7 separate regions of the Homo sapiens genome follow, and all the other regions are linked to region 4. Evidence: promoter capture Hi-C in 16 types of primary human blood cells and fetal thymus (Javierre and others, 2016). All regions are on one chromosome and are shown on one strand. The core of a region is centred on a gene start or on the middle of the fragment in contact, and the rest is flanking DNA. Distances in the headings are between cores, read along the strand shown. Region 1 overlaps USP13 (ubiquitin specific peptidase 13). Region 2 overlaps USP13 (ubiquitin specific peptidase 13). Region 3 overlaps USP13 (ubiquitin specific peptidase 13). Region 4 holds the start of TTC14 (tetratricopeptide repeat domain 14). Region 5 overlaps NDUFB5 (NADH:ubiquinone oxidoreductase subunit B5). Region 6 overlaps USP13 (ubiquitin specific peptidase 13). Region 7 has its middle 3.6 kb from the start of USP13.

Evidence for each region. The method cuts DNA at HindIII sites, captures the fragments that hold promoters and counts their contacts. A CHiCAGO score of 5 or more calls a contact.
Region 1: a contact is called between a fragment that was not itself captured here and the fragment with the promoter of TTC14 in region 4, in 5 of 17 cell types (M2 macrophages, M0 macrophages, endothelial precursors and 2 more). The highest score is 12.1, in M2 macrophages.
Region 2: a contact is called between a fragment that was not itself captured here and the fragment with the promoter of TTC14 in region 4, in 4 of 17 cell types (M0 macrophages, M2 macrophages, M1 macrophages and 1 more). The highest score is 7.9, in M0 macrophages.
Region 3: a contact is called between a fragment that was not itself captured here and the fragment with the promoter of TTC14 in region 4, in 7 of 17 cell types (endothelial precursors, M2 macrophages, M0 macrophages and 4 more). The highest score is 16.0, in endothelial precursors.
Region 5: a fragment that was not itself captured here is called in contact with the fragment with the promoter of TTC14 in region 4 in 1 of 17 cell types (naive CD8 T cells); the score reaches 6.3 in naive CD8 T cells.
Region 6: a fragment that was not itself captured here is called in contact with the fragment with the promoter of TTC14 in region 4 in 1 of 17 cell types (endothelial precursors); the score reaches 5.2 in endothelial precursors.
Region 7: a contact is called between a fragment that was not itself captured here and the fragment with the promoter of TTC14 in region 4, in 16 of 17 cell types (naive CD4 T cells, total CD4 T cells, non-activated CD4 T cells and 13 more). The highest score is 16.3, in naive CD4 T cells.

Annotation. Positions count from the first base shown.
Region 1 is chr3:179,749,181-179,752,576 of GRCh38, reverse strand. It overlaps USP13 (ubiquitin specific peptidase 13), which reads right to left. Exons shown (of 21, transcript NM_003940.3): 14 at 204-292. Among named protein-coding and RNA genes, the nearest start is that of USP13, 98 kb to the right of the region's middle. The HindIII fragment of the contact is 6,287 bases long and covers 1-3,396 here.
Region 2 is chr3:179,691,985-179,695,403 of GRCh38, reverse strand. All of the region lies in intron 3 of USP13 (ubiquitin specific peptidase 13), which reads right to left. Among named protein-coding and RNA genes, the nearest start is that of USP13, 41 kb to the right of the region's middle. The HindIII fragment of the contact is 3,789 bases long and covers 1-3,419 here.
Region 3 is chr3:179,770,616-179,774,324 of GRCh38, reverse strand. All of the region lies in intron 19 of USP13 (ubiquitin specific peptidase 13), which reads right to left. Among named protein-coding and RNA genes, the nearest start is that of USP13, 120 kb to the right of the region's middle. The HindIII fragment of the contact is 4,298 bases long and covers 238-3,709 here.
Region 4 is chr3:180,600,839-180,604,261 of GRCh38, reverse strand. It overlaps TTC14 (tetratricopeptide repeat domain 14), which reads right to left and starts at 2,099. Exons shown (of 12, transcript NM_133462.4): 1 at 1,840-2,099; 2 at 1,247-1,371; 3 at 939-1,138; 4 at 1-37. The coding sequence starts at 2,000. It overlaps TTC14-DT (TTC14 divergent transcript), which reads left to right and starts at 2,149. Exons shown (of 3, transcript NR_183700.1): 1 at 2,149-2,359. RefSeq lists an enhancer at 2,019-2,308. The HindIII fragment of the contact is 2,365 bases long and covers 79-2,443 here.
Region 5 is chr3:179,618,556-179,621,855 of GRCh38, reverse strand. All of the region lies in intron 5 of NDUFB5 (NADH:ubiquinone oxidoreductase subunit B5), which reads right to left. Among named protein-coding and RNA genes, the nearest start is that of NDUFB5, 15 kb to the right of the region's middle. The HindIII fragment of the contact is 5,639 bases long and covers 1-3,300 here.
Region 6 is chr3:179,675,919-179,679,156 of GRCh38, reverse strand. All of the region lies in intron 1 of USP13 (ubiquitin specific peptidase 13), which reads right to left. Among named protein-coding and RNA genes, the nearest start is that of USP13, 24 kb to the right of the region's middle. The HindIII fragment of the contact is 1,984 bases long and covers 696-2,679 here.
Region 7 is chr3:179,647,680-179,651,272 of GRCh38, reverse strand. It overlaps the pseudogene H3P13. Among named protein-coding and RNA genes, the nearest start is that of USP13, 3.6 kb to the left of the region's middle. The HindIII fragment of the contact is 5,252 bases long and covers 1-3,593 here.

The DNA.
Region 1 (3,396 bases), core at 782-3,281, 850 kb after region 4:
AACCATAACTGGAGGGGTGGGTAAGCAGATGGCAATTTTTATTGTCAGTTCTTATCATATACTCTGATTCAAAACAGAAAGGTGAGAATGATGGAATGAAATGGAACTGTTTGTGGCAGCCAACTACATGGGCTCTTTCACATGCCATGTTGTTTAAATGGCTCATTTGATGTTTTAAGCAAAAGCACGCAAAAGATACCTACCAAATTTTTTGGGAACCCAGTCAAGACCAAAAGTGAACTTCTTTATCTGCACTACCAAGTATTCAGGGAATGAAGCAAAGCGAGATGTTCTGGGAAACACAAGGGGATATATCAATGAAACAAGGCAATAAGAATTGTGAATACAGTTCAAAAAGCATATCAACTTTGTCTGAGGCACACCTGGCCATTCCAATGGCTGAACTGAAGAGGAGGAACATGCAAACACAGACATGTAAGTGGACACACATTCGCTCTCCCCTGCTCATTTGTCCTGGCCTCTTCACAAGAAGAAAATGTTTAATGTAGAATGTTATCGTTTAAGAATGCTTTTGGGTAGGTGCGGTGGCTCACGCCTGTAATCCCAGCACTTTGGGAGGCCGAGGTGGGCAGATCACCTGAGGTCAGGAGTTCAAGACCAGCCTGGCCAACATGGTGAAACCCCGTCTCTACTAAAAATACAAAAATTAGCCAGGCACAAAAATACAAAAATTAGTGGGGATTGGGGCACGCCTGTAATCCCCACTCGGGAGGCTGAGGCAGGAGAATCACTTGAACCCCAGAGGCAAAGGATGCAGTGAGCTGAGATCATGCCACTGGACTCCAGCCTGGGCAACAGAGTGAGACTCCATCTCAAAAAAAAAAAGAATGCTTTTGGACCTGTTTCAAAATTGTTACTTTTACTTTGCTGTGGTGTTCTATATTTCTGAAAAGTGCTTTTCAACCATTTATTTTTTCTGAAATCCTTGCTAGAGTTTAGTATACATAGTTTTAACTGTTTACAGCATGCATGCTTGGTATACATGTATGTGGGGTTTGAAAAGTCTCCCCAGGTGATCCTGAAACACCCCCACCTCCACTTCCACTTCCACACAGAGTCACTGTCTTATAGCGCAGAGTTGGCGGACGAAGGGCTTACTGCAACTTTGGCTGAGGTTGACTATTGGAAATGCCAGGGCCTCATTAAAATACTGCGGTACTTAATCCATGGCCACATGGATCCTAGGGGTAGACATATTATGGGATAAGTATCCAAAAAATCTGAATCTGGGCCTTGAAGTTTAAAATTAATACACATTACCAGTATCTTGAATCCTCTTCAAACTTTCAGAAAGGCTCAATTTCCTGGGCATGGATTTGGCAATTTTATACACAGACTGTTCAACCTGTACACCAAATTCATACCCTAGTTCCAGCTCATTCACTCCACATTTATCATTTTGTTTTTAACAACCATTTCTATTTGTAGTCAATGTGGGTGTGGTAGGTATATGTAAAAAAGAAAATGAGCTGTTTATAGGTATCACAGATACCTTTTAAAATAAAAAATTCTAGAATATCCTCCCCTATTCCACTTTTCAAATCTAAGTCACTGCCTTCTATTTGTAATGCATCTTCTGTTAGAAAACAAATGCAAATGTATTGCTTCCCCCTAGTGTCAGAGAAAAGGCACAGCGCAGGGACAGAACACGGGGCAAAAAACAGTCAAACGATGTGGATGTGGGTCTTGAAAATGCCACTTCATTCACTCCAAATCTGGGCAAACCACTGACACTCCCTGATCCATCTACAAAATGGACTTACTAATCATGTCTACCTGCCAGGCCGTGCAATGTTCATGAAATGATGTGAAACCGCTTGGCGCACTAGAAAGTATTGTATATACCTAAGGAATTAGCATGATTATTTTGTCATGAAAGAGGTAAAAGCTATAAAGCCTTGGATGCTGAATTGAACTGTCACTTATCTGTATTTTACCTCCAGGCAAGTTATTTAAATTCCCTGTATCTCAAATTCTCCATTACAAAGTTGGTAGAAGAATAAAGGCAATTCAGAAAACAGGAGCTTTATCATCCCAAGCAACTAATCTACTATTAGCCAGGCTCACTCTCCAGAAATTATATATTATCTCTAATTAGGTTTTTCTATCTTCTGAGAAGCAGTAATACACATTATTCTTATTTAAATGTCACCAAGTCCTCAACTGCACCAAAAAAACAACAAACTCTGTCTGATATTTTATATATATACATATATATATATATATATACACACATATATATATATATATACACACACATATATATATTTATTATTATTATTATTATTTTGAGACAGAGTTTTGCTCTTGTTGCACAGGCTGGAGTGCAATGGCGTGATCTCGGGTCACTGCAACCTCTGCCTCCCGGATTCAAGTGATTCTCCTGCCTCAGCCTCCTGAGTCGCTGGGATTACAGGTGCCTGCCACCATGCCCAGCTAATTTTTGTATTTTTAGTAGAGATGGGGTTTCACCATGTTGGCCAGGCTGGTCTCAAACTCCTAACCTCAGGTGATCCACCCACCTTGGCCTCCCAAAGTGCTGGGATTACAGATGTGAGCCACGGCACCCGGCCATGATATTTTAATGTAAAAATGTTCTTTTTCTTACCTACTCTTCCTACCATATTAGCTTAAAATCTGGAAAATACATAACAGTGAAATCAACCAAAAGACATTGGTAAACCAATAATTTCCAAAATATGACTCAGGATCCCTGAGACTCTTGAAGCTGCTCTGTGGTCAGTATCTAGGCGGAGTGTTAGCTGTAATACCATAATAGCGGTAGTGGAATAACTCAAGGTTGGGGCAGGGATAATTTAACACATCACTGTGTTATAGGTAGCCGCCAATCTAAAAGTACCAGAAAGTAGATTTAGATGGTGTTCACATAATATTTGCCCTATTGGGTAAAACATTCTTTATTCATCTTTGTAATCTCTATAGGGTCTCAAGTTGAATCGCTCACATGTAGTAACTGTTCAATATATATCTGTTCAAATCAATCTCAAAAGTTATGCTTTGCATTCATTTATTGCAGTTTGGGGACATCAAGTTAGTTAAATCTAGCACAGTTATAAATTATGCTCAGCTTATTCTTTTATTTCTAAAATTAATTTCTGGAATTAAAATATTTCTTGAAAAATGATATGTTTTAAATAAAGATCATTAGAATGTAAATCATTCAAAGAGATCTAGATAGACAGCAAATTTTCTTCAAAGAGCTGTTATGGGAATTAAATGATTTAAGACATATAAAGTGCTTAGAATATGTCCCAACAACAATACTGTGTTGTTGTTAACAACCTGTTAGCATTATTTAAAATATATTGATTGTTCACTAAATCACAATTAAGGCAAAAATACGATAAAGATTTT
Region 2 (3,419 bases), core at 401-2,900, 910 kb after region 4:
TGGCCTCAGCTTCCCTTGTAAAGTCAATTGCAGGTTGTAACCAAATGATTCAATGGTTTCAATGTCACTGTTGAGCTGATGGAAAAGGAATTATTCACAAAGTCATCAAATGAATGGGAATAAAACACCTCCACCCAAGATAAAGCATTGGCCACCTACATCTGCTTCATGAAGCCGAAGAAGGAGCATCATAATTTCATTTCAGTACCAGTGAAATAGTACTTCCTAGCCAAAAAATAACAGAGAAACTGCAAGAGAGCTCTGAGTTATCTTCCTCTCCATGAGGAAACAATCCCAGCATCCCTTTGAGGGAAAGAGTCTGTGGCAGAGGCTACTAGCTGCCTCCCAATACCCACTGTCCCCTTCTTCCTAATAAGAGACCCCAACTTTACTCAGCGGAGCCCGCTGGTGGGCTTTATTTTCCAGTCTCCTGTGCAGCTAGATGTGGCCACGTGACCAAGTTCTGCCAGAGAGGCGTAAACTGATTGGGGGCTCTATGAGAAGGCTGACAAAGGCAAGGTGACTCTGCTGGGAGATTAGACTATTTTGTCCTTCCTCTTTCTCCTCTTTTCTTTGTTTCTTTTTTTTTTTTTTTTTTTTTTTTGAGATGGAGTTTCACTCTTTGCCCAGGCTGGAGTGCAATGGTGCGATCTCAGCTCACTGCAACCTCCGCCTCCCAGGTTCAAGCAATTCTCCTGCCTCAGCCTCACAAATAGCTGGGATTACAGTCATGTGCCACCATGCCCAGCTAATTTTTTGTATTTTTAGTAGAGACAGGGTTTCACCACGTTGGCCAGGCTGCCGAACTCCTGACCTCAGGTGATCCACCCACCTTGGCCTCCCAAAGTGCTGAGATTACAGGCATGAGCCACCGCGCCCGGCCTCCCCTTTCCTCTTTCATGCTTTCCAGAATCAGGATGTGATGGTTGGAGTTCCAGTAGCCATTTTGGACCGTAAGGTGACCATGAGGTTGGAAATCATGGGCCAGGATGGAGGGTGAAGCAGGAATATGGGAAGAGCCTAGATCCCTGGTGAACATGAGGCCATCACATCACCACACTTACTGTTTCCCAACATCCTCTACATGACAGCAAAATAAGCATCTATCTTGTTTAAAGTTACCAGAATCGGCCGGGCACAGTGGCTCACATCTGTAATCCCAGCATTCTGGGAGGCCAAGGCAGGCAGATCACTTGAGCCCCGGAGTTTGAGACCAGCCTGGGCAACATGGCAGAACCCTGTCTTCACAGAAAAATACAAAAATTAGCCAGGCATGGTGGCGCATGCCTGTGGTCCCAGCTACTTGGGAGGCTGAGGTGGGAGGTTCACTTGAGCCCTACAGGAGGCCGAGTCTGCAGTGTCCATGATTATGCCACTGCACTCCAGCCTGAGTGACACAGTGAGATGCTGTCTCAAAAATAAATAGGCCAGGTGTGGTGGTTCACGCCTGTAATCCCAGCACTTTGGGAGGCCAAGGTGGGCAGACCACCTGAGGTCAGGAGTTCGAGACCAGCCTGACCAACATGGTGAAACCTCGTCTCTACAAAAAAAAAAATACAAAAATTAGCTGGGCATGGTGGTGGGCACCTGTAATCCCAGCTACTCGGGAGGCTGAGGCAGGAGAATTGCTTGAACTCGGAGGGCGGATATTGCAGTGAGCCGACATCACACCACTACACACCAACCTGGGTGACAGAGCAAGACTCCGGCTCAAATAAATAAATAAATAAATAAACAAAGTTACTAGTGTTTTAAATTTACCGTTACATAAACCAGATGTAACCCTAATACACAGCCCATCACTGAAATTAATTTATAGGTCACATTAACTCAGGGCTGGGACCAATGTGACAAGAGAAAAGTGCCTGTTCCTAGGAGATGAGAAGCATCAGTTGAGGGGGCTTTAAATCAGAACTTGCAAAAAATGAATTCCTGTAAAAAATAACTTCCTGGCCAGGCACAGCAGCTCACACATGTAATCCCAGCACTTTGGGAGACTGAGGTCAGAAGATTGCTTGAGCATAGAAGTTCAAGACCAGCCTGGGCAACACAGTGAGACCCCATCACTTTAAAAAAAATTTTTTTTAATTAACCATGTGTGGTGGTGTGTGCCTGTAGTCCCAGCTACTTGGGAGGCTGAGGCATGAGGATCACTTGAGCCTGGCAGGGTGAGGCTGCAGGGAGCTATGATTGTGGCACTGCACTCCAGCCTGGGCAACAGAATGAGTTCCTGTCTCAAAAACCGAAAAAGAAAGAACTCCTACTGGGATGACGGAGGTAAATTTGTAAAGAACCTGGATATAAAACAATAGGGAGAAATGGAATGTGGGGCTAATGGCATTCATTTTTAAATTAATATAGTCATAGAACACTTTTTTGGGGCTGTGAGTTCTATATGCACCTTGTGGTTTTCTAAGATATGAAATCTTGCCTGAATACAGAGAATAACCTGTAGAAAAAGCCTCACTGAAACAAAATGGTAGGTAGTCCCCTACGGAAGAATGGAAGGAAGGGGTCCACACAGTTTGAAGCACAAAACCTCAGTGCTAACTTTCAAATTAATTTCTAAAACAGTTTCCTGACAATATCCTCTACAACCAAAATAATCACTAGAAAAAAATCAAACCTCCAGGTCTTATGAAAAGAAGACACAAAAATTAAAGGCCAAGGTCAGCTAACTTCTTCATTCAACCAAAGAAAATAATAAAAATTAACAATGGTAAGTCGAAATGTTTAGTTAGTTCTGCCTTCAAGAAGAACCTGCTGACGTTACTTAATTCAAATGAAATCATATGATCTATATTAGTGCAAAGGTGCTGGAAGACTAATAACCAAAGCATCAGAAGATATTCAATAATTTCAGCTTTGGGGTTCATGCTAGCTTGGTTTGGGTTTAGTTGGTTAAACTGGGTTGTGGTCCAAAGACAGGTTGAGAAGTAAGGAAGATTGGCCAAGGTAGAAGAACCAACTGCAGATAAGCCTCGTACAGAAAAGCATGAGCTGAGAAGCAGGAGAAGACAGCAAGGTTGGATCCAGCACAGAGTAACTGAGAATCAAACCAGGAAAGAAACTCAGCTCCACAACAGTTTTCAATGGCTTCACTTTTCAAATAATTCATGTGTCTTTTCATCACAGTAACATGTTTGTTACAGAAAAAGTTTAAATATAGAGAAGCAAAAAGATGAAAATCAGAATCACTTCCATTCTATTACCGGGAAAGAGCTACTATTAACAGTTTGGAGTATTCTTCCAGACTCTTCTGATCTCCCAGTTATATATGTACACATGTGTATGTGTGTGTAGAAGTGTGTGCACACACACAGATATACATTCATACATGCATGCATACATACATATACATGTCTATATCTGTATATACATATGTATATGTATGTATAGGATTTTTTTACAAAAATGAA
Region 3 (3,709 bases), core at 1,137-3,636, 830 kb after region 4:
AGTCAGTGAGACCAAGAACCCACCAATTCCGGACATAGTGGGAGGTATTTGGGACATGGAGGTGGATCCCTCATGAATACCTTGGTGCCCTCTCCTGGTAATAAGTGAGTTCTCACTCTATTAGTTCAAGGGAGAAGAGGTTGTTTAAAAAAACATGACACCTCTTCTCTCTCGCTTGTTCTCTCTCTTGCCACGTGACACGCTTGCTCCTCCTCTGCCTTCCATTGACTGAAAGCTTCCTAAGGCCTCTTCAAAAGCAGATCCAGCACTGTGCTTCTTGTATACTCTGAAGAGCTATGAGCCAAACAAACCTCCTTTTTTTATATAAATTAGCCACTCTCAGGTATTCTCTTACAGCAATGACTATAAAACTACTAACACACTACTGATTAAAGATCTCATATTTAGTGATGTTACCTGCTAACTTGTAGATTTTTATCTAGTAAAGATACAAAAAAATTCTGTCCAGTAGAACACATATCCTCAAGGATGTATAGATTTATAAATTGGGGTATAAACTGGTAATATAATTATTTCAAGGATTTATGGTCCTGACAGACACTGACTAATTTTTAACCTAACCTGGCAATCTCATCCTAACATTTCTTTTTGAAATTGTCTTTAAATATCCTAGTTCCACAAATGTTTTTAAACCAGTAGTAACATCTGACTGATTCTCTCATTAATTAATGAGTTTTTTAAAATCTGTGATATGTGTTCATTTTACATTTACCTGAAAGTCATGATCTTGCCTTTTGGAAAATTATGCTTTAACAAGTGTAATGACCAAAAGCAACTCTGGATTCAGAAGTGTCTTTAAATGAATTTAATTTTATAAGCCATTATAGCATCTAAAATATTTACAAAGCAGCAGTATCTCATCAGGGCATGACGCATTATTTAGTTAGTCTACAGAGAGTGCTCAGAACACAGAGACATCAAAACACTCCCTAAAATAACTACCAAGACCCCAGAGGCACAGCAGTCCTCTGGTGAGAAAAACTGGGTTCTCATCCAATGCTCTTTACTTGATTAATTTGTGTCATTGCCTATCTCTAACTCCCTCTGTACAAAGCGGGGGAAATAAAATTGCCAACTTACTAACATTTGCCTCATAAGCACCCAATATCTGGGTATTTATCTGGGATATGCTTTTCCCCCACAAGGTATTCATGAGGGATCCACTCCCATGACCCAAACACCTCCCACCAGGTCCCACCTCCAACACTGCAGTTTGCATATCAACATGAGATTTGGAGGGGACAAACATCCAAAGTATATCAGGCGCAATATACAACAAGTTCAATCTCTCCAACAGCTTGATTTCCCCTCATGCCCTCTCTGAGAAAAAACAGTGTGGGAGGGAGGAGTATTTGGAGCTTTCAGAAATTTCTGAATTCTCAAAAAGAGAAGACAGACCTAGGTAAATCAATAACATCGGAAGGCAGCTGATAGCAACAGAATTGTAAAGGGTCTACGAATTGCTTCCCCCAACCCTAGCCAGCTCCAAATTACCAGTCTCTCGGTTACAATGCCGAATGCTCCGAAAGGCAAACACTTCCTTCCAAGTCTAATAGTTCTCCATCATTTATCCTTCAGTGTAAATCAGTTTACTCAAGAGTGGCTGCCTCTTAACTTTCAACAGCACCGCTGAAAAAATTAGGAACTGCAACAAGTGCTAAGTGGGAGGAGAATTAGCACCAGTGGCATGAAGTGTCTATGTGACTTTCCAGTCGACCACTGGGGCTTAGCTTCCCTGGGGAGCTGTACCTTTTGCCCCCTAGATCCTCTTCTGGGTGGCATTCCTCAGGGAGCTCAGCACCTCAGGAACCCCAGCGTTATGCAAATGAACGCCTCTCTGCTCCCTGCCTGGAAAATCTCAGCAGCATCGGAGACATCTAAACCATTACACCAAAGTGGCTGAAGGAGCCAGAGCAGGCTCTGAGTAATCACAGCCTAATCACATGTTAATTTCATTGGCAATCAGTGAGTTCTTTTCTTAAGAAAAATTAAATGCTCATTAAGTGAAACATGAAAACAGAAATGATTTTGCACATAGCAGAAGCCCCGATAGGTCAGAGTGACGGCCTGATTTCTAGCTTTAAAGTTTTAAAAAACTCAACAGAAAGTTAGGTGCTAGCCCTAAAATGTGCAGAACATGGTAGAAAATAGACTCTCGTCTCCATTCCAATACAAAATGTGAAATAAGATGACTCAATCGGGGATAAAGGAAAAACTGCACAGCCTTCAAAATCAAACAGGCCTGAATTCTAACCTGGTTCTACCACTAGCAAACCACTTAGCTTTGTCACCACTTCCTCATCAGAATACCTCCCTATAAGCAGTGAAGGAAAAGTGGTCAAGGAAGTGCCTGGCACAGAGGAGGCATTCAGGAAATGACAGCCACTATTTCATCAAGTGTTAATAGCACTAACCTTTTTAAACAAATTAGACGCCATTTAGATAATCGTTTCATGCAGTAGCATTACTTCCACATTCAGAAAAATGGAAACAGTGATTTTTAATTAACATATTCCTAAAAGGAAAAATTTGATACCTGTACTTCTTTAATCCCTACCCTTGTAATAATAGCTTTTTTCCACTTCATAACACCTACCTTATTATTTCAGTGTTAACCTGGTGTGACAAAGTCCCAGTAGCCACGACCCTCCTTCTTAAAGCAACAGTAACCTAACACTGCTTTTAAGGTGGTAATTCTCAAGTTTAAGCTGCATCAGAATCACCTGGATGTCCTGTTAAAACACAGATTACTGGGCCTCACCCAGAGTTCCTAATTCAGCAGGTCTGAAGTGGGGCAACATCAGTCCTAACAAGTTCTCAGGTGATTCTATTAGTCCGAACCACACTTGAACCAGTGCTTGAAGGAGATCAACCTGTCCCTTCTCAGCTCAGGTGAGAGGATGGAAGATGTCTCCACCCTCAGGTTCTAGGAGTGAGGCCCATAATGCAGGCCTGAATCAACCTGCCTCAGTGACTTGGAGTAGGACAGGGCACATAACGGAGTCTCACAGAGTCTCAGGCTCTCAGGACCTTTGCTGAGAACTCTGGGACAAGACTTAGCTAGATTTTAACCTGGAAAGATATAGTTGTGGGAGGCGCTGCAGCCATCTTGTGCCATTAGGGAGAGCCTGTCTGGGACTGGAACCAACCTAGAGGAAGCAGAGCCAAGGGGCCCATCCAGCTAAAAGGATTTGAGTCCTGAATCACGGCAGGCCTGCAGCCCAGTGCCCCCAGGACTTGCCAGCTTTCATGAGAAAATATTTCCCTTTTTGCTTAGACAGATTTGTCTTGGACTTCTTGCCACTTAAAACCCTGAAAACTGAAGTTGTTTTTATTTTGTTTGTTTTGGTTCCTCAAACACCAATTACCCCTACTCTTTAATTGTATTCAATATTCTCAGCTGGGTGCAGTGGCTCACACCTGTAATCCCAGCACTTTGGGAGGCCAAGGCAGGCAGATCACAAGGTCGGGAAATGGAGACCATCCTGGCCAACATGGTGAAACCCCATCTGTACTAAAAACAGTATAAAAATTAGCTGGGTGTGGTGGCGCGTGCCTGTAATCCTAGCTACTCCAGAGGCTGAGGCAGGAGAATAGCTTGAACCAGGGAGTTGGAGGTTGCAGTTTGCTGAGATGGCGCCACTGCACTCCAGCCTGGCGACAGAGCGAGACTCCATCTCAAAAAAAA
Region 4 (3,423 bases), core at 850-3,349:
TACTGTGAGAAGGCACATCTCTTAAGGGACAAAGAGCCTGTAATGAGAAGTATTTTAAAACACCAGACATTTCAAGCTTTGATAAGAACAGTGTCTTCTTTTATCTTAGTTGTTTGGTATGAAACAGCTAGTAGTTGAACAACCTAAAGTAAAAATTTAAATAAGGATTTAGTTAAAAGTAATTTCCGTGTCCAAACACAGTAAAATATGTTTGCTGGTTCAGTTAAAAAACTAAAATCTCATGAAACTTTCCATTAGTTTAGGAACCAAATATGATGGCTTATGACAGTATACAACATGCATCAAAAACAAACTAAAATTTGTCTAAAAGGTATAAGGATTCCAGTGAAAATGAAATGCCAATTCTCCAAAGTATTTTGTCTGTTATCCAATCTGTAATACCTTCTGCTTTTCTTCCTTTTTATCTGCCTGGATAGATGGCAAATACCCAATCTTTTATCGTGACACATTAGTTTAAATTCAGGACTATCCATCTTGGGCAAAGTATCTTAATATAATGTACAAACCACTTACATTTAATTATTGTAAATATATAAATGAAACTTCTCTCCAAATTATCCACATGAAAATATACAATGCCAAATATTAACTAATTAAGAATACATATGTTCAACTACAAGAAATAAGTCTGAATATCAATCAACCTCACCACGTCCACTGATACCTCTTTGAGCATTTAGAAAAGAACACTGTGCCTGCCAACCAGTTTAAATTTAAAAAATCCCAAAAACCAGAAATGGAGGGAGAAACTGGGTAACTTACACTAATTTTTTTAAACTATTTTTCTCCAATTAACATTTAATTTCCAAAAGCATCTTGGCAGGTATACTTGAGCACAACTGCATGCAAAGATATAGTTCTTGCATTGAGATGCGTTAACAAAAACAGAAGCAATCCAAGTAACAAAAATAACTTACTGTGATTTCTAAGTGGGCTATATCTCTCATGATACCACTTCCTAAACAGATCAACACCATGAAAAAACCGAATTCCCGAATAGAACTAATTCTTCCAATCACTATATCACCACGCTCAATATCTCGGAAAAACAGCTCTCTCCGATCCATACTAGGTATCTCCATGAATTGCTCTAAAGGTGGCATGATTGCATAATGATCTAAAAAAAAAAAATTAACAAAATCACTAACGATAGTTTTGAGTTCCGTTTCACCTGAAGTACTGTTAAACCGAACCGCAATCTTAAAGATTTTAAGGCTAAACTGACCTTCACTGTCTTCATTAATTTCAGAAGTTGCAGGTGCATCTGATTTCCAGGAAAGTGCAAAAAGCAGATCCGCTTTTTTGGAGATGAATTTCTGTATCTCGATGTTGTCAACTCTCTTCTCTTTTCTTAAAAAGAAAAAAATATATATGAAAATTGGGTTATCTGCAAAGCCTCTTTACTTCTAACCTTCTGCTTATGGCTTTCATCGCCCATTCCGCTCCATCCTAAGCTGCAGACAATACAACCTCAGACAAAAAGTTTTAACTAGGCATTCCCTCATTAACCAACCTGGAGGTGGAGAGCGGGGAAACTTAAAAAGTGACGCCTCCAACTCAGATAGGAAAGCTCAAGGGATTTTTAGCTAAGGAATCTGCGCCTCTACCAAGCAGTGCCAGAGAAAAAGTTCAGCCCGCATCCCGCATTGCACAACCCAGGAGCGCCCCCCGTCCACCCAGCCCAAGACACCAGCGCGCGATCGTCCTGTGCTCACGGCCGCGGCTCCACTTCCTCTAGACGCAAACCCGGGGCTGCGGTAGTGGCTGCCAGAGCTGCGTCCCCTCTTCCGTGGCGCAGTGGCACCAACGTCTCATTACCTGCCCTGCAACGGGTGCTGGGGCGGCGGGCCCCGGGCTGGCTCGGCGGCCGACCCCAGGAGGCTACGGAAGTGTGGATTGTCCTGCTGTTCGCTCCGAAGTAGAGAGAGCAAAGACGACCCGTGGCAATTTAGCGACTGCCGCAAAAGGTCCCGGTCCATGGCTAGAGAATGCAGGGCCCGGAGGCCGACGGGCTGATAGTTCCCTGTTCCGTGTCCGCTACTTGAGCCGGGTGGTACAGGAAGCGGAAGAAACTGTCTGGAGGCTGCCGGAAGTACACAGACAGCACAACCAGTTACACCCGGAAGTGTTCTGGGGTCGCCCCCACGGCGGCGCGGCGGAGCTCAGCCTCGATCTCGCGAAACCGAGCGAGACTACGGAAGGCCGAAGGATTGGGCTCAGCATTGCTTGGGCTAAAGGCTGACTAGGGCTTCCAGGAAGTGATGTATGTGAGAAGTTTGCTTTTTAAAGTGTACGTGGGATCGTTATTACGTCGAAATAGCTCGAGCTGTAACCTAGGGTAAATAATAATTCCTTTTCGTATTCATCAAGGTGCTTCTAAGTGCCAGTGCCAGGGTAAGAACCCTATACGAGTCTCCAAGCTTCTTCCCTCGACGTACTCTCTGCGTAAATCAATACCTGTGTCTCTGGCGTAACCCCATTCAACCGGCTGCTCCGGGAAGGTTTCCAGGTGGTTTTAAGGGCAGAAGAAAGGAAGGACACGGACATTTGTTAAGCACCTGGAGTGGTGTTCTCCATCCATACCCCATTTACTGTTAGTGATTGTGAATTCTAAAACCAGGATGGCTTTAATGTCTCCACACGTGCATATGCCATTCAAGTTTTACAATAACTAATGAACACATGCATTTCTTATTTAGTTTATCTCAATGGTTGCTCAAAATTTAGTGTCTGTGGGACTTACTGTATAGTGGTATGTACGCAAAAGTCAATATACTGTTCTTATGGACAATTCAAGTGATTTTCAAAGGGAATTTCAACTTAGGTCCCCCATCCCCTTACTTACTGACTTGAGAACCTAACCACTATGGTAGCTATTGTACTTTTTCATTTTAGAAAACGAGGAAACATGCTCAGAGAGTCCCAGTAAATTGCTCAATGGCACACAGCTAGTAAGAGGCTAGAGTTAGGATTCCAAACGAAGTATTAATTGGTCTTCTCAGGCAGAGTTGCTGGATTGAGTATTTTATCATATGGAAGGTCTAACTAACCCTAATTTTGAGATCATGTAGCTTCGTTTTATTCCAGTATAAAATTTGTACCATTTAAATATGTTCAGTGTAAATAGTTCAGTATAGTCCTCTTGAACAGAAATAAACGGTGACAGTTAGTCTCTCCACTTCCCACCATGTGTCTTTGAGGAAATCAACTTGCCTTTCACTGTGTTACCACTTTTGTATAGGAGATCTAGCCCAGAACATAATCGATACTGCCACACTGTTTTGTGGAAAACCCAGGCAAATAGGTAAACAGTTTGAGACTTGAGAAAATGCAACAAACAAGAATGCAACTGTAAAAGATAAATTTGGGTTAGGCACGGTGGCTCACACCTGTAATCCCAGT
Region 5 (3,300 bases), core at 244-2,743, 980 kb after region 4:
CAATAATTATAAATGAGTAAATACATAGAAAGTAATTAAAACACTGATATTAAATGTACTCAAAAATTTATTAGCGGCCAGGTATGGTGGCTCACGTATGTAATCCCAGCACTTTGGGAGGCTGAGGCAGGCAGATCACTTGAGGCCAGGAGTTCAAGACCAGCCTGGCAAAACCCGGTCTCTACTAAAAATACAAAAATTTGCGGGGTGTGGTGGCGGGCGCCTGTAATCCCAGCTACTCGGGAGGCTGAGGCAGAATCGCTTGAACCCGGAAAGCAGAGGTTGCAGTGTGCCGAGACCACGCCACTGTACTCCAGCCTGGGAGACAGAGCAAAACTGTCTCAAAAAAAAAAAAAAAAGAAAAAGAAAATATTATTAGTTACTATTACAGATTTGTTACCTGAAAATGTAAAAACACTTCTGTGTTGCAAAAATTTCTACACTGCCAAAAGACAATATATAGAGAAAGAAATACACATAGCCAGGTGCAGTGGCTCACGCCTGTAATCTCAGCATTTTGGGAGGCCCAGAGGGTGGATCGCTTGAACCCAGGTGTTTGAGAGCAGCCTAGGCAACACGGTGAAACTATGTCTTTACAAAAAATACAAAAATTAACTGGGCATGGTGTCATGCACCTGTAATCTTGGCTACTAGGGAGGCTTGGGTGGGAGGACAGCTTGAACCCAGGAGACCAAGGCTGCAGTGAGTCAAGATCATGCCACTGTACTCCAGCCTGGGCAACAGAGCAAGACTTTGTCTCGGGCGGGGGGAAGAAAGAAAAGAAATACACACAATTAATAGATATTAAAAAAACTACTCAACTTTACAAAGAAATATAAAATTGAAATGATGAGGTAACATTTTTCAATTACCCTATCAACAAAAATGTTTCACTTTGATAAATTCCATTACAGAGAAACATGGAAAACTGAAACATGGAAACTGATGAAGAAACAACTGGTGCAACTTTTTGGAGAAGAGTTTGGCAATATCTACCCAAAGTTTAAAAGCATGTGCTATTTGGCTTATTAATGCCACTTCCAGAAATTTATTTTCCAGATATGTTACATAAATATGCAAACAATATGGGGGAAAATTAAACACAGCAGTATGTACAATAGCAAAAAACTTGGAAAGAACCCAAGTACCAGCAATAGGGGACTGGTTAAAAAAACACAGGCACTCCAAGTCAATCCTAAGCCAAAAGAACAAAGCTGGAGGCATCACGCTACCTGACTTCAAACTATACTACAAGGCTACAGTAACCAAAACAGCATGGTACTGGTACCAAAACAGAGATATAGACTAATGGAACAGAACAGAGCCCTCAGAAATAATGCCGCATATCTACAACTATCTGATCTTTGACAAACTTGACGAAAACAAGAAATGGGGAAAGGATTCCCTATTTAATAAATGGTGCTGGGAAACTGGCTAGCCATATGTAGAAAGCTGAAACTGGATCCCTTCCTTACACCTTATACAAAAATTAATTCAAGATGGATTAAAGACCTAAATGTTAGACCTAAAACCATAAAAACCCCAGAAGAAAACCTAGGCAATACCATTCAGGATATAGGCATGGGCAAGGACTTCATGTCTAAAACACCAAAGGCAATGGCAACAAAAGCCAAAATTGACAAATGGGATCTAATTAAACTAAAGAGCTCTGCACAGCAAAAGAAACTACCATCAGAGTGAACAGGCAACCTACAGAATGGGAAAAAATTTTTGCAATATACTCATGTGACAAAGGGCTAATATCCAGAATCTACAATGAACTCAAACAAATTTACAAGAAAAAAACAAACAACCCCATCAAAAAGTGGGCAAAGGATATGAACAGACACTTCTCAAAAGAAGACATTTATGCAGCCAAAAGACACATGAAAAAATATTCATATCACTGGCCATCAGAGAAATGCAAATCAAAACCACAATGAGATACCATCTCACACCAGTTAGAATGGTGATCATTAAAAAGTCAGGAAACAACAGGTGCTGGAGAGGATGTGGAGAAATAGGAACACTTTTACACTGTTGGTGGGACTGTAAACTAGTTCAATCATTGTGGAAGTCAGTGTGGCGATTCCTCAGGGATCTAGAACTAGAAATACCATTTGACCCAGCAATCCCATTACTGGGTATATACCCAAAGGATTATAAATCATGCTGCTATAAAGACACATGCACACATATGTTTACTGTGGCACTATTCACAATAGCAAAGACTTGGACAAGCCAAATGTCCAACAGTGATAGACTGGATTAAGAAAATGTGGCACATACACACCATGGAATACTATGCAGCCATAAAAAATGATGAGTTCATGTCCTTTGTAGGGACATGGATGAAGCTGGAAACCATCATTCTTAGCAAACTATCGCAAGGACAAAAAACCAAACACTGCATGTTCTCAGTCATAGGTGGGAATTGAACAATGAGAACACATGGACACAGGAAGGGGAACATCACACACTGGGGCCTGTTGTGGGGTGGGTGGAGGGGGGAGGGATAGCATTAGGAGATATACCTAATGTTAAATAATGAGTTAATGGGTGCAGCACACCAACACGGCACATGTATACATAACTAACCTGCATGTTGTGCACATGTACCCTAAAACTTAAAGTATAATTAAAAAAAAAAAAAAAAAAACAGGCACTCAGCACCATAAGAGAGGGGAAAAAATATATGTGTCTAGCTTTTTAATATGTATATAAAATATAATGTATAAGAAAGAAAATCCACATAGCTTTCCATAACAGCATATATCCCTTTCTTTTTAATGGCCACATTATATATTTCACTGGATGGATATACCCATCCATCTGCTTCCCAGCTGGGGCAACAGAGCAAGACTTCCACTCTAAAAAAAAATTCAAAAATTTAAAAAAGAACTCTTTAATCTGACACATATCTCCTAATAGTCTCCTTGTCACCAGTTTATAGTTTTCACTCCAAACAAGCTAATTCTATCTTTATCCATTTTTTTTTTCCTTTGGAGACGGAGTCTCACACTGCCACCCAGGCTGCAGTGCAGTGGCATGGTCTTGGCTCACTGCAACCTCTGCCTCCTAGGTTGAAGTGATTCTTCTGCCTCAGCCTCTTGAGTAGCTGGGATTACAGGCACGTACCACCACGCCCGGCTAATTTCTGTAGCCTCCCAAAGTGCTGGGATTACAGGTGTGAGCCACTGCATCTGGACGTATCTTTATCCTTTTACATAAAGTATCCTATAGTGCTGAAATATTCATAGTTTTATTAATTTTTTCTGGTGGTTTGCTACCTTAGGAAGA
Region 6 (3,238 bases), core at 438-2,937, 920 kb after region 4:
AGATTGTTAACTTAAACAATTTTCTAATAATCAAATTCTCTAACATTGTATCTGGAATTTCTAAGTGAGGATATAAACAGTCCTCTCACAATGTGAACACTTAACAGCATTAACTCAAGTATGTGCCTCCTACTGTAGCATATACATTGCAATAAGCAAACTAAATAAATAAATAAATAAAAGGTATAAAGATCACAAAGAAAGAAGTAAAGTGGTCTCTATTTCCTAATGACAGTACAGGCCATATTGAAAATTCTAAGGAATCTACACACACTAGTGAAAATAACAACTAGTAAGAGCAATAAGTGAATTTAGCAAGATCACAGGATACAAGTTAATAGACCAGAGTCAACTGCAGTTTCAGACATTAGCAACAAACACTTGCAAATGAAATTTTTAAAGCTTGACTTCAAAACAGCATCCAATCCCAGCATTTTGGGAGGCTGAGGCAGGCAGATTGTTTGAGCCCAGGAGTTCAAGACCAGTCTGGGCAACATGGAGAAACCCTGTCTCTACAAAAAAATAATAATACAAAAATTAGCCAGCCTTTTGTCCCAGCTACTTAGGAGGCTGAGGTGGGAGGGTCACTTTAGCCCAGGGAGGTCAAGGTTGCAGTGAGCCATGATTGTGCCATCCAGCCTGGGTGACAGAAAGAGACCCTGTCTCAAAAAAAAAAAATAGCATCCAAAAAAGCTTATAATTATAATATAGCTTGTGCTTGTGGATAACTTTTCTGCCTTTACCTGAAATCATTTAAATAAAATTAGAAAAGTCCTTCAACTAGAGACAACACATTACATGCATTTAATCAACAGATTAGGTAAGTATTTTCAAGAGTTTTCTAAATAAACATGTTCTTTGGATAGATAGACCTCCTAAGAAAAACATACTGCATCACTATAATAGTCAATTATTCATTAAATCCATTGTGATTTTTTTAAAAAGTTCCATTCTCTTCTAATAAAATGTAATTCAGTCAATGAATTTGAACCAGAAGATTTACTGGGGAAAATATGGGATCTGTAATAGAGGTCATGCTCTGTCACCAGCTAGCTCTCTGGCCTAAGGCAGGCTGCCATATAGGGCTCTGAGCTCCAGTGTTCTCCTCTATAAACATGGCCGTAGCAATAATTCCCACGACACAGAGTTGCATGAAATTTAAAGGGGGTGAAATATATCAAAGTGCTTTCTGTGCTATATGGCAATACATAAATGTTGTTTATTATACATTATGGGCTAATTATTATTATCTCATTATCTGAATCATTTTATAATTGGGGAAAACAAGCAGGAGGAAGAATAAGTGAGTCTGACAGCCACATAGGCTGGGAGTAACAAATATTAATCTGTCAGAAAAAAACACTAGGCAACTAGTAGAAGAACCAAGAAATTAGCAATCAGAAGAACAAAAATGTTCAAGGACAGTATTTTTCTAAAGAAAAATATAGAAATACTCTATATCCAAGAGTCTATAGTTTCTTAAGTAATCATAGTCTTTGCTAATTTCATTGTCAAGAGTTTTTTACTTATTAGGGAATCTGATGGAAATTTATTTTATTTTATTTTATTTTATTTTCTCATTGAATTTTGTTCTTGTTGCCCAGGCTGGAATGCAATGGCGCGATCTTGGCTCAACGCAACCTCCACCTCCTGGGTTCAAGTGATTCTCCTGCCTCAGCCTCCCAAGTATCTGGGATTAGAGGCATGCGCCACGACACCCGGCTAATGTTGTATTTTCAGTAGAGACGGGGTTTCTCCATGTTAGCCAGGCTGGTCTGCAATTCCTGACCTTGTTATCCACCCACCTCGGCCTCCCAAAGTGCTGGGATTACAGCGTGAGCCACTGCACCCGGCCAGAAATTTAACATACCAGACATGAATTCTCAATTTCTGAAGCCGCTTGATAATGTCACGAAGTCCATAATCAAAGAGAAAAATTATTTGACACTCAGAGAGGAATGGCCACATAAGGAAGGATTTCATTATAACATCAACAGGTGGCCGGGCACAGTGGCTCACGCCTGTAATTCCAGCACTTTGGGAGGCCGAGGCAGGTGGATCATTTGAGGTCAGGAGTTCGAGACCAGCCTGACCAACGTGGTAAAATCCAGTCTCTACTAAAAATACAAAACTTAGCTAGGCATGGTGGCAGGTGCCTGTAATCCAGCTACTTGGGAGGCTGAGGCAGGAGAATCGCTTGAACCCAGGAGGCAGAGATTGCAGTGAGCCGAGATCATGCCACTGCACGCCAGCCTGCGCAATAGAGCGAGGAAAAAAAACATCAACAGGCATGTTCCACTGGACACCAAGGCTGGCCACAGAGGTAGTGTGTGCCCCTTTACATGGCCAGTGCTGACAGGGAGGCACTGCCCAATACATTCACCAGTAGTTCTTAAAATTCAGGGAACATTAACACAGAAAACCCTTTCAAACCTGTCACATATAGAACAAACAAACACCCCAGTCTAATAATCCATGCTTTCTTCTCTCTTGCCCTATTAATACCTAAATATTGGTCCTATCATACACTGTCTTTCACATACAGAGTCAGCACCCGATGGCCTCTGCTCCCAACAGCTTCTTTCAATCCTGATAAAAAGTCTATGTGGATAACTGTCTCCCAATTTCCTTGTGACCAAAGCACAGAGAATGGTATACAGCCCACAATCAAGCTAAGCTTCTTGACTCACAGTTTCAAACCCTCAACCTCATCCTCTCATTAACCAGCCATCTTCTCACTAAGATCACCACCCAAGAAAGCATGGTAAAGCGCATGCCTCCATGTGGACAAAAGGGCAGCCAAGCAATCAGGCCAGGTTCAAGATGACAGTGAAATGCAACTGGAAGAATCAAAGGACAGTGTATGAGTCCATTCTCACACTACTATAATGAAACACCCGAGACTGGGTAATTTATAAAGGAAAGAGGTTTAACTGACTCACAGTTCCGCATGGCTGGGAAGGCCTCAGGAAACAAAATCATGGCGGAAGGTGAAGGGAAAGAAAGGCACCTTCTTCACAGGGCGGCTGGAAGGAGAAGTGCTGAGCAAAGGGGGAAAAGCTCCTTATAAAACCATCAGATCTCATGAAAATTCACTCACTATCACGAGAACAGGATGGGGGTTACCAACCCCATGATTCAATTATCTCCCACCAGGTCCCTCCTACGACATGTGGGGATTATGGGAACTACAATTCAAAGATAAGATTTGGGTGGGGACACAGCCAAACCATATCAG
Region 7 (3,593 bases), core at 71-2,570, 950 kb after region 4:
TTAAGCAAACTAGTGTATAAAAGCAAGGAATACATGCAAGGCTGATAATATGCAGTAGGCATTTTGGCACATCCTATATACCATGGGCCTTCATTCCAGTTGGTTGTACTTGTAGTAAATATTTTTAATGTAGCCCCTTAAAATATACATATGTGTATGCATGCCCACTTGTTTGGCTTTAGGATGTCTCTAGAGCAATACACAAGAAACTAGTCAGGCTCTGTGGAGAAGAACTGAAAGCCTGAGGTTAAGGGAGAACTTACTACCTGGTATGGTAGGGCTGTGTCCCCACCCAAATCTCATCTTGAATTCCCACGTGTTGTGGGAGAGACCCAGTAGGTGGTAATTGAATCATGGGGGCAGGTCTTTCTCGTGCTGTTCTTGTGATAGTGAATAAGTCTCACAAGAGCTGATGGTTTTACAAACGTGAGTCTCCCTGCACAAGCTCTCTCCAGTTGTCTGCCTCCATCTGAGACGTGCCTTTCACCTTCCACCATGATTGTGAAGCCTCCCCAGCCACATGGAACTGTAAGTCCAATAAAACTTTCTTTTGTAAATTGCCCGGTCTCAGGTATGTCTTTGTCAGCAGCGTGAAAACAGATTACTACACTACCACTTTGTAGCTTTCTGTATGATTCCATTTGTATTATGTGCAAGTATTGCTTTTTCCCCCCCTTTCTTTTTGGAGATGGAGTCTCCCTCTGTCGCCCAGGCTGGACTGCAATGGCGCGCTCTCAGCTCACTGCAACCTCCGCCTCCTGGGTTGAAGCGATTCTCCCGCCTCAGCCTTCCAAGTAGCTGGGACCACAGATGCACGCCACCACGCCAGGCTAATTTTTTGTTGTTTTTTTTTTTTTTTTTTTGTAGAGACGGGGTTTCGTCACGTTGGCCAGTCTGGTCTCCCACCTCGGCCTCCCAAAGTGCTGGGATTACAGGCGTGAGCCACCGCGCCCGGCCTCAAGTATTGCTTTAAAAGTTAATTAAAACTCAGCCATCGCTCTCCAACACCAGCGCCGCCTGTCACTCGCCACGCTCCAGCAGAAGAACGGGTCTAAGTAAGGAGGTCACTATACCATGGCTGGTACAAAGCTGACTGCCCAAAAATCAATTGGTGGTAAAGAACCCAGGAAGCAATCCCAGCACTTTGGGAGGCCGAGGCGGGTGGATCACGAGGTCAGGAGTTCAAGACCAGCCTGGCCAAGATGGTGAAACCCTGTCCCTAGTTAAAATACAAAAAAAAAAAAAAAAAAAAAATAGCTGAGCGCGGTGGCAGGCGCCTGGAGTCCCAGCTACTCGGGAGGCCGAGGCAGGAGACTCGCTTGAACCTGGGGGGCGGAGGTTGCAGTGAGCGAAGATCGCGCCACTGCACTCCAGCCTGGGCGACAGAGTGAGACTCCGTCTCAAACAAAAAAAAAAAAAAAACAAAAAGCAAAAAAAAACAAACAAAAAAAACTCCAGGAAGCAACTAGCTACAAACGCCGCAAGAGTGCGCCCTCTACTGGACGGGTGAAGAAACCTCATCATTACAGACCTGGTACTGTGGCACTCGTGAAATTAGACGTTATCAGAAGTCCACTGAACTTCTGATTCGCAAACTTCCCTTCCAGTGTCTGGTGCGAGAAATTGCTCAGGACTTTAAAACAGATATGCACTTCCAGAGTGCAGCTGTTGGTGCTTTGCAGGAGGCAAGTGAGGCCTACCTGGTTGGTCTTTTTGAAGACACCAACCTGTGTGCTATCCATGCCGAACATGTAACAATTATGCCAAAAGACATCCAGCTAACACACCACATACCTGAAGAATGTGCTTAAGAATCCACTATGCTGGGCACGGTGGCTCACGCCTGTAATCCCAGCACTTTGGGAGGCCGAAGCGGGCGGATCACCTGAGGTCGGGAGTTCGAGACCAGCCTGACCAATATGGAGAAACCCCATCTCTACTAAAAATACAAAACCAGCCAGGTGTGGTGGCGCATGCCTGTAGTCCCAGCTACTCAGGAGGTTGAGGCAGGAGAATCGCTTGAACCTGGGAGGCAGAGGTTGCAGTGAGCCGAGATCGCGCCATTGCACTCTAGCCTGGGGCAAGAAAAGCGAAACCCTGTCTCAGAAAAAAAAAAAAAAAAAAAAAGAAGCCACTATGATGGGAAACACTTCATTCTAACACACACACACACACACACACACACACACACAATTTCTTTTACCTGTTGTTGGTAGTTCTGAACGTTATCTATTTTTTTTTTCCCATGGGGTCAAAACGTACTAAGTATATATGATTGCGAGTGGAAAAATAGGGGACAGAAATCAGGTATTGGCAGTTTTTCCATTTTCATTTGTGTGTGAATTTTTAATATAAATGTGGGGACGTAAAGCATTAATGCGAGTCAAAATGTTTCAGTGAACAAGTTTCAGCAGTTTAACTTTATAATAATTATAATAAACGTGTTAAATTTTTCTGGACAATGCCAGCATTTGGATTTTTTTAAAAACAAGTAAATTTCTTATTGACGGCAACTAAATGGTGTTTGTATCATTTTTATCATACAGTATATTCCATCACTATACTTTCTGTGTTGTCCTACATGCAAGTACATTTTTTTTGGTTTTTGTTTGTTTTGTTTTGTTTTGTTTTGTTTTTGTTTTTAAGACAGTCTCACTCTGTTGCCCAGGCTGGAGGGCAGTGGTGTGATCTCGGCTCACTGCAACCTCCACCTCCCGAGTTCAAGCAATTCTCTGCCTCAGCCTCCTGAGTAGCTGGGATTACAGGTGCCCGCCACCATGTCCGGCTAATTTTTGTATTTTTAGTAGAGACAGGAGTTCACCATCTTGGCCAGGCTTGTCTTGAACTGCTGACCTTGTGATCCACCCACCTCGGCCTCCCAAAATGCTAGGATTACAGTCGTGAGCCACTGCAACTAGCCCATGTTTTTAAATGTTGTCTGTCTTCTGTGCTGTTCCTGTAACTTTGCTATTAAAATACATTAAACTATAAAAAAGTAATTAAAACTCAATTGTAAAAACACTACAAGTTCAATGACTAGTAATAGTAATAGAAATTGAAGTTGCATCACTATAAAAACGCATTCCAACTTTTTTCATATAATGGCACACGTTGAAAATGATATTTGTACAACCCACTGAAATAATCAGTCAAGGATGTGTCTTTTAGCCAGAGCCTACTAATCTGAGGACTCTGATCACCACAGGTCCCATCCACGGCCTCTCAGAGGACTGAGGAGATACCACACCTGAATCCATCTCTGTGCACCAGAATGCCAATGGCATACCAGATGGAAAGTTCTAATCAAACCAGGGAAAAATAGAAAACATCTAAAGATAGAGAAATTATTAAATTAGATACATCTACTCAAAGATGCTTATACAAACTTAAAATGATAATTATGAAAATGAATGATTTAATATGTTTATAGAATGCTGCTTAACATGCTTGCTATACTTATATAACATTATCGCAACTGGGTAAAAATAAATAGCCATTTTGACAAGACTGGAAAATTTAAATAGTTATGTTTGGGATTAAGTTATAAGATTTTGTTTCTATTTTCAAAATGTTTCCAATGATATCGCATTTGT